2 separate regions of the Homo sapiens genome follow, and region 2 is linked to region 1. The links are contacts of gene promoters, found by promoter capture Hi-C in blood cells and fetal thymus (Javierre and others, 2016). All regions are on one chromosome and are shown on one strand. Each heading gives the region's core, a stretch centred on a gene start or on the middle of the fragment in contact. The rest is flanking DNA. Distances are from core to core; before and after follow the strand shown. Region 1 holds the start of RBM45 (RNA binding motif protein 45). Region 2 overlaps OSBPL6 (oxysterol binding protein like 6).

What was found. Contacts are between HindIII fragments. The CHiCAGO score rates a contact against its expected background, and 5 or more counts as called.
Region 2: a fragment that was not itself captured here is called in contact with the fragment with the promoter of RBM45 in region 1 in 3 of 17 cell types (monocytes, megakaryocytes and naive CD8 T cells); the score reaches 7.3 in monocytes.

What each region holds. Positions count from the first base shown.
Region 1 is chr2:178,110,035-178,114,215 of GRCh38, forward strand. RBM45 (RNA binding motif protein 45) reads left to right here and starts at 2,403. Exons shown (of 10, transcript NM_152945.4): 1 at 2,403-2,812. The coding sequence starts at 2,513. RefSeq lists an enhancer at 2,439-2,608. The HindIII fragment of the contact is 3,392 bases long and covers 1,979-4,181 here.
Region 2 is chr2:178,281,439-178,285,619 of GRCh38, forward strand. It overlaps OSBPL6 (oxysterol binding protein like 6), which reads left to right. Exons shown (of 25, transcript NM_032523.4): 2 at 3,489-3,683. Among named protein-coding and RNA genes, the nearest start is that of OSBPL6, 89 kb to the left of the region's middle. The HindIII fragment of the contact is 2,547 bases long and covers 1,155-3,701 here.

The DNA of each region.
Region 1 (4,181 bases), core at 1,153-3,652:
ACTGGTTTGCAAATAATATTGCTTTGCAGTTCCTCTCATCAACAAAACTCACACTATCAAATTATTTTCATTTACCTTGATTGTTGTGGGTAGGAAAAAGAGAAATGGAAAGTCAAGAAAAGATACTTCCTAGAGTTGTTCAGCCTCAGGGTAAACAGAACCCTCACTACAGATATGGAATGTAATACAAGGAGAAATTATAAAAATCTTAGTGCTAAATCCAGGGTGACAACCCACAATCCCTGACTCTCAGTAGTCATCACACAACTGTATAATATCAGTGGTGGGGGAGTGGATACCATAGTCAAAGGGAACAAGAAAATTAATCTCAATTATACCATTATACAAATATTATCTCATTTGATCTCTAAACTATGAACTCCATATATATTATCTTATATGAGCATAACTATATAAGGCTAAATGATTAACTCTGTGGGGGAAGAAGAGTAATTATTTTGTTCAATACTACATCCCTTCAGTATAACACAGTGCCTAACACATAGTAGATAGTCAAAAATACTTATTAAGTGAATGGGTGAATTAATTAAACTTGATAGTCATGCTCCTGCGTAGCTATTAGGCGGCTATCAAGCTTAACTAATCCAACCACAAAATAATATGTATTACCTATTTAGTAGGTAATATTATTCCTACTTTACAGTTAATGAAACCGAAGCTGCAAGTATTAAGTAACTTGTCCAGGCTCACACAATTCAGTAGCAAAACCATGTAACATAATCTGATATTACTTTGCATTATATATTTACATGTAAGATTTCCACAGTGGGGGAAAACAAGCCCTCGGGACATGTCTTTCCTGTTCCTCATTATATATCTAGCTCCTGGCATAGAGCCTGGCACACAGTTGGAGTACAATAAGTATTTATCTGGTTGACTTCATAGCAACCTAGGTCTTAGCATCCAGAACTTGTTCATTTGAAGAACTCCGCCCTCGGTCTACTTAGGGGTTTATTCCTTTCACTTCATTCCAATGCCACTGCTAAATCCAGGCCTTGTTTCTGGATTTCTACTGGGTTTCTGACCTCTCCTCTAAGGCTTGTTAACAAGAAGGCATTTCCCACTTTGCTTGCACTCTATGATTTCTCTTAGTTCCACAGCTGAGCAGTCCACCCTCACTGCCCTCCAACCCCAGGGTTGCTTGTAGAAGTTGAGTAAATCAACAGATGGAGTTAGTTCTGGGTTTTTTGTTGTTGTTGTTGTTGTTTGAGGTGGAGTCTCGCTCTATCCCCCAGGCTGGAGTGCAGTGGTGCAAACTCTGCTCACTGCAAGCTGTGCCTCCTGGGTTCACACCATTCTCCTGCCTCAGCCTCCTGAGTAGCTGGGACTACAGGTGCCCGCCACCACGCCAAACTAATTTTTTTGTATTTTTTTGGTAGAGACGGGGTTTCACCGTGTTAGCCAGGATGGTCTCGATCTCCTGACCTCGTGATCCGCCCGCCTCGGCCTCCCAAAGTGCTGGGATCACAGACGTGAGCCACTGCGCCTGGCCAAGTTAGTTCTGGTTTTAGTCGTACTTTTTATCTCTATTACTTTGGCTATGCTATAGGCCTCAGTTTCCTCATCTCTAACAAATGACGCTGAAATTGAATGATCTCAAAGCTTCCTTCCAACTCTAATGCTATATAGTTTGAACTCTGTCCTATATTGATCATCTATTGAGCTTATGACCAAGATGGTGACAACTCTCCACTTTGACCAAAACTTAGTTAGGCTCCTTTGAGTCCTCTGCTTGACTAGGCTTGATCTTGGGCTTTCTGTCCTTGTAGAATCCAATTTGAGCAAGAATCCTGCTGAATCAGTGTAGTGAAAATCCTCATTCTTGGTGTCTGACTACCATGGATATCAATCACCCTGGCCTGCCTTCAGCAACTATCCTGTCAAGTTGGTTTAGCCAGAATCCTCCTTAACACTGATGTTCCCTCTTTGTAATTTTCCATCCACTGACCTCCCACCAAGCTTCTTGGTTAGAAATTTGTCCTTATTAGAGTCAAAATTCAGTCCAATCTCTCTCTCCCACTGCAAGACCCCATTGCAGCTGTCCCTGGACCTATCTCCATGGCTCCCTTTGTCAAAGTCGGCCTTCCTGTACCATCTCTAACGAGTGTCATGAATAATTTTTTCTTTAACACTGGAAAGAATCCTTGGCCTTAGGGGTGGGGTAAAGCCAGCGTTGGGAAAGCCTGTGCATTAGGCAGCGCTGTTCTGCCTGCAGGGAACGATTGCACAACTGATAACTTGGGCCTAGGCTCAGCTGGATTTGAGGATTTGAGACTTAGACTGGGTCAGGGTCCCCCGCGTCGCCAGGGGGCGCTGCAGGCCGCTCCCCGGAAGGCCTCATCCTGCGCGGCTGGACAGCGCCTGGCGCCGGACTCCTCTTTCTCCCGGAAGCGGAGCACCGAGCCGGCAAAGGCTTGGGTGTGAGACAGCAGCGGTGGCAGACACCGCAGAAGCAAAGAGCAGTGAGGCTCCTGCATTCGGGTGGAGCACCATGGACGAAGCTGGCAGCTCTGCGAGCGGCGGGGGCTTCCGCCCGGGCGTGGACAGCCTGGACGAACCGCCCAACAGCCGCATCTTCCTTGTGATCAGCAAGTACACACCTGAGTCGGTGCTGAGGGAGCGCTTCTCGCCTTTTGGCGACATCCAGGACATCTGGGTGGTGCGGGACAAGCACACCAAGGAGTCCAAGGGCATTGCTTTCGTCAAGTTCGCCCGCAGCTCACAGGCCTGCAGGGCCATGGAGGAGATGCATGGCCAGTGCCTCGGCCCCAACGACACCAAGCCCATCAAGGTGCGGGTGCCCGGGTCGGGGTGCCCTCGGGGGAAGGAGTGGGCCTCTTGGACCTCCCTTCACCTGCTGCTCTGCCGGGGTGAGGGAGGAGTGGAACATCCGTTCCCGGCAGCTGACCAGACAGCACCTGGCTTGGGGACAGGGGCTGCTTTGAGGAGAGGCTCCCCTCCCACGAAGCTGCGCCGGGTTGCAGGGAAGGGGACGGGATGCGGAGTGTTTGCCCCACGAGAGCGGACCCGGCAGCCGCGGCCACCGGGTGACAGAACAGCAGTGGCTGGGCTTCCCCTCTCCCTCGCCCTCACTAATCCACCAGCTCTTGAGTTCACTGCCAAACTCGTCCTAGCCTACTTTGAGTACTTTTCTGACCTTCCTCTCTCAGATGCCCAGATTTCCATATATAAAAAACGGAAAAACTCTACTTTTCCTCAGGTACAGATGAGGCGTTAACAACTTGACAGAAGTACTTTAAACTGGGGAGGGACCTCTGGTGTTGGACGTTTTCCTAGTACCAGGCGAAAGAATACATGTACAGAAAGAATAAGTGCAGGTGTTTAAAACGGTCACTGTTACATATTCTTCACATTTTGTTATTTTGGAAAATTGTTTTGAATGAGCTCTGTTTCTGAAAGTGTTAATAGCATACATTTGGTTCTTGACCCTTTCTGTTACTGCAACTTTTCTTTGAAAGCAGACCAAAGTAAACTGCCTTAAGAAGAGCCAAATCATTGTGATAATGACACATGGCAGGAAGGATCATTTTGAGGGTTATTTGACATAATATGTGCTGTCAGCACAGTGCCTCACACAGGGTAAGCCCTCAATAATGTCCTTGTTATTGATCAGTAGTAGCCAAGATGTCACAGCTTACTCCCTGTGATCTCAAATCAGGACTCAATCCTGAGAATCTGGCAATTGCTTAAATTGTAGCCTTCGTCTGCCCCATGTAAATAGTTGCTGTGTATGTTATTCTGTTGGTACTTTGCACAAAAATATTTTCTCAATTTTTTAAAAAATTGTTTTCCAAACTGAGAATGGTATTAATATGGATTTATGTAAATAAAGGGCTCAGAGATATTTCAGTCTCTGGAGGTCTTGCTCCATCCACCAAAGAGAAGGAGCCTGGGACTCTACCAACAACACAGTAAACAGTCCCTTCCTCCCACTTCTCCAACCCTCTGAAGTGTGTCAGAGTGACAGCAACAAAATTAATTGTAGGGCCACAGCATACAGGATCAGGAATTGGCAAACTTTTTCTGTAAAGGGCTGACTAGTAAATATTTTAGGCTTTGCAGGCCACATACAGTCTCTGTCACATAACCTTGTCTGTTTTTACAGTCCTTAAAAACTGTAAAAACAATTATTACATCAT
Region 2 (4,181 bases), core at 1,178-3,677, 170 kb after region 1:
TTTTTGTATAAGGTGTAAGGAAGGGGTCCAGTTTCAGTTTTCTGCATATGGCTAGCCAGTTCTCCCAGCATCATTTATTAAATAGGGAATCCTTTCCCCATTGCTTGTTTTTGTCACGTTTGTCAGAGATCCCATAGTTGTTGACGTGCAGTCTTATTTTCTATGCTGTCCCATTGGTCTATGTGTCTGTATTTGATCATGTCCTTTGCAGGGACATGGACAGAGGTAGAAGCCATTATCCTCAGCAAACTAACACAGGAACAGAAAACTAAACACTGCATGTTCTCACTTATAAGTGGGAGCTGAACAATGAGAACGCATGGACACAGGGAGGGGAACAACACACACTGGGGTCTGTGGTGAGGGGGGTGGTGGGTGGGAGAGCATCAGGAGAAATAGCTAATGCATGTGGGGCTTCATACCTAGGTGACGGGTTGATAGGTGCAGCAAACCACCGTGGCACACATTTACCTGTGTAACAAACATGTACATCCTGCACATGTACCCCAGAACTTAAAAGGAAAAAAATTGTTTGCACAGAATTAAGGTCCGGTCCCTGCTTCCCGGAGTACACACAGTCTGGTATAGGAGACACAGTTCACACATAAAACTGTAAGACCAGGACAGCCTGACACAAATAGAACTGACCAAAAGTACTGAGCAGCTTCTTCTTCCTAACTGGAAAGATCAGTGAAGGAGTTGGGAGTTGCAGTTTTGTGCTGGATTTTGAAGGCTGTATTGGCAAAGACTATGGCGAAAGAAGAAGGAAGTAGATGGATGCTCCTTGGGCTAAGGTTTTATTTACATAGGCAGGTAGCCAAGGACACACACACACAGCATATGTGATGCGATGGGAGAGGGCGGAGGAATTCCTTAGATATGGTTAGTGAGATTCAACTTGTCTTATCCCTCCCCTCTGCTGCTGCTTAGTGGAGGAAACAGCGGGAAGGAAAGGAAGCCTTAATCTTACCCCCTTGGTCCTCTCTTCTGGTTTACCTTCCCACTTGTTATTTTAGAATGGTAAGAACTTGTGGAGAATCAGACTAGGACAGAGGAACGGGGGTGAATGAGCAAAAAGAGCTGCAGGATAGCACAGGGGACTCTTTAGCTTGCCTTTTCTTTTTCCTCTTTATCAGTGTCTTCTCTGTTTCCAAAGCTTGACAGAGTTCATCATAGGAAGGAGGAAGGAAGAGATGGCTAAGGGAGTTTCTGCTTTTTGTTTTTTGTTTTTAGACAGAGTTTCGCTCTTGTTGCCCAGGCTGGACTGCAATGGCATGATCTCAGCTCACTTCAATTTCTACCTCCCGGTTTCAAGCGATTCTCCTGCCTCAGCCTCCTAAGTAGCTGGGATTATAGGTGCCTGCCACCATGCCCAGCTAATTTTTTGTATTTTTAGTAGAGATGGGGTTTCACCATGTTGGCCAAGCTGGTCTCGATCTCCTGACCTCAGGTGATTCACCCACCTTGGCTTCCCAAAGTGCTGGGATTACAGGTGTGAGCCACTGCGCCTGGCCTGCTAGGGGAGTTTCTATAGCTGACAATTCATATTCCATCTGCCTGTAATTAAATGAGATTAAAGAGCATAGACTGAGTAGTGTGCAGAAAATAAAAAGATGCAATGCTGAGCATACAAAAAGAATTCTGATGGATCTTAGCCTTAGTATTCAAGGTCATCATCATAATCAACAATTAAATTTTACTCAGGACTTACAAGGTACACGGAATCGTCTTACAACACAGTAGAATTTTTTTTAAAAATGTTATTTAAAGAAGTGGAAGGGGAGTTAGAACAAAAACTTTTGCAGAAAGATGGTACTTAAGGGGGCAATCATGGCATTGGATGCTGGCCAAACATAAATCTTCTGCAGTTTCAGTAAGTTGTAGCCTTAGAATATGTATGTATGTATACATGTGCTTGTGTGTGCATTTTTCCCATTCTCAATAAGTAAAAAAAAAAAAGGAAAACTAAAACAGAGTGAAAGGATAGGCTTGAAAAAGTCAAACCCAGGGAGTGATTTTTAAAGCTGGCTTGTGAATAAAGGAGCCTGCTAGAGAGGTTTATGGCTGGAAGGATAAAAACGTCTGTCATGTTTCAGGATCAGAGAGTAACTTCTTTGGATTACTTGTCACATTTTTCTCTTATCTTATGATGAATTTATTCTCTTGTAAAAATACTGTGTTTTGGTCCATTTGTGTTGTCATAAAGGAATACCTGAGGGTGGGTAATTTGTAAAGAAAAGAGGTTTATTTGGCTCATGGTTCTGCAGGCTGTATAAGAAGCACGGTGCTAGCATCTGCTTCTGGTGAGGGCCTCAGGCTGCTTCCATTCGTGGCAGAAGATGAAGGAGAGCTGTTATGCAGAGATCACATGGTGACAGAGGAAGCAAGAGAGAGAGAGAAAAGGAGTCCCAGGTTCTTTTTCAGCAATCAGTTCTTGTGGGATATAAAAGTGAGAATTCACCCCTCAGAATGGTACCAAGCTATTCATGTGGGATCCGCTCCTGTGACCCAGACACCTCCCACCAGGCCTCACCTTCACCACCGGGGATCATATTTCAACATGAGACTTGGTGAGGCCAAATTATATCCAAACCATAGCATACTGTTTCTTTGCTTTCTGAGAAATTATGTCAAGTTAAAAACTATATTCTTTTATAGTATGTATAGAGTCTGTTCTTCTTGCTAGAGGATTGTTCTAGGAGTTTGGCTACAGTTCTCTTCTACAGCAAATTAGAGACTGTTCATGCGTTTTTTTCAGGGCATTAGAGATTGTACATCTATGTGCATGTATGATGAAACCACTTCATACTTACTATTTTTAAAAACTCTATTGGGCCAGGCATGGTGGCTCAGCCTGTAATCCCAGCCCTTTGGGAGGCCGAGGCAGGCAGATCATCCAAGGTCAGGAGTTCGAGACCAGCCTGGCCAACATGGTGAAACTCCATCTCTACTAAAAATAAAAAAATTAGCTGGGCATGATGGCGTGTGCCTGTAATCCCAGCTACTCAGGAGGCTGAGGCAGGAGAATCACTTGAACCCAGGAGGCAGAGGTTGCAGTGAGCCGAGATCACACCATTGCACTCCACCCTGGGCATTGCAGCGAGACTCTGTCTCAAAACAAAACAAACAAACAAAAAAGCCCTGTTGAGGTTTATATTTAATTGGAGGGCTAAATGTGGTCCTGGAGAATATATTTTGTCCCCTTTTAGGAAATATTTGCTATATCACTTGAGAGTTTTCATACTCCAAGCTCTGGGTGAGATGTAAATTATGAATGTTACTGATTACTGAGAAGGTCAGTGGTTACGTCTTTGAGGTTACATAAAACTGAACAAAGGAGATAAAAAGCTGAGGCATGTACCCATATGAACTTCCTGTTCAAAAGATAAATTGGGAGGAATTTTCTGATTGGCCATAGGCAGTCCCCGTGAGAGGCTCACGAAAGTTTTGTAAAGATGTACTATATGACTGTAATCTCTCTTTTTCAGGTTCTGCCACTTGCTGGGAAAACAGCAACAGAAGGATATTAAGGAGCCACCCCTATAATTTACCCAGATAGCCCCAGCAAGGTCAAAGACATATCATGTCCCAAGGAGAAAAGCTGCAGGCATCTGAGGATAAATCACTGTGAAACAGCTTTGACCATAAAGCTGACTTGGAAGACTTTGACTCCAAGGTGCAAGGTGAGTTAGAAGAACACAAGCTTAAAACCAAAAGCAGGGTTAGGTTAGGCAGCGCTTAATAATAGCAACAGATTAGTGGGACACCACAAAGTCACAGGAAGGTGTTTCTTTATATCTCTTATTTGTATGTCAGATCTTAAAATAATATGTCATAATCCTTATAATAAAAAGTTCTTTTTTTTTTAAGGATAGGAAGTAGAAAAATGTGAAAATATTTGGTAACCATTTTCTGTTTTCTGTATGTAGTCTGGCATCATGTGGAAATATGATACTGCTTTTCCCTTCTTGAGCAATGAACGTGCAGACCTAAACCTTAAAATAGCCAAAATGTTATCCTTGCTTTCTTTATACACATATCCACAAACCCACATTTGACTACAGGTACACATTCTTAAAATGCATCCAGTTTTTATAATCTTCCATAGTAAACAATGAGACAGTCAACTTTTCTTTTTGCTCATGAGACTGAAATGGCTGTGGTACTAGCAATACTTTTTG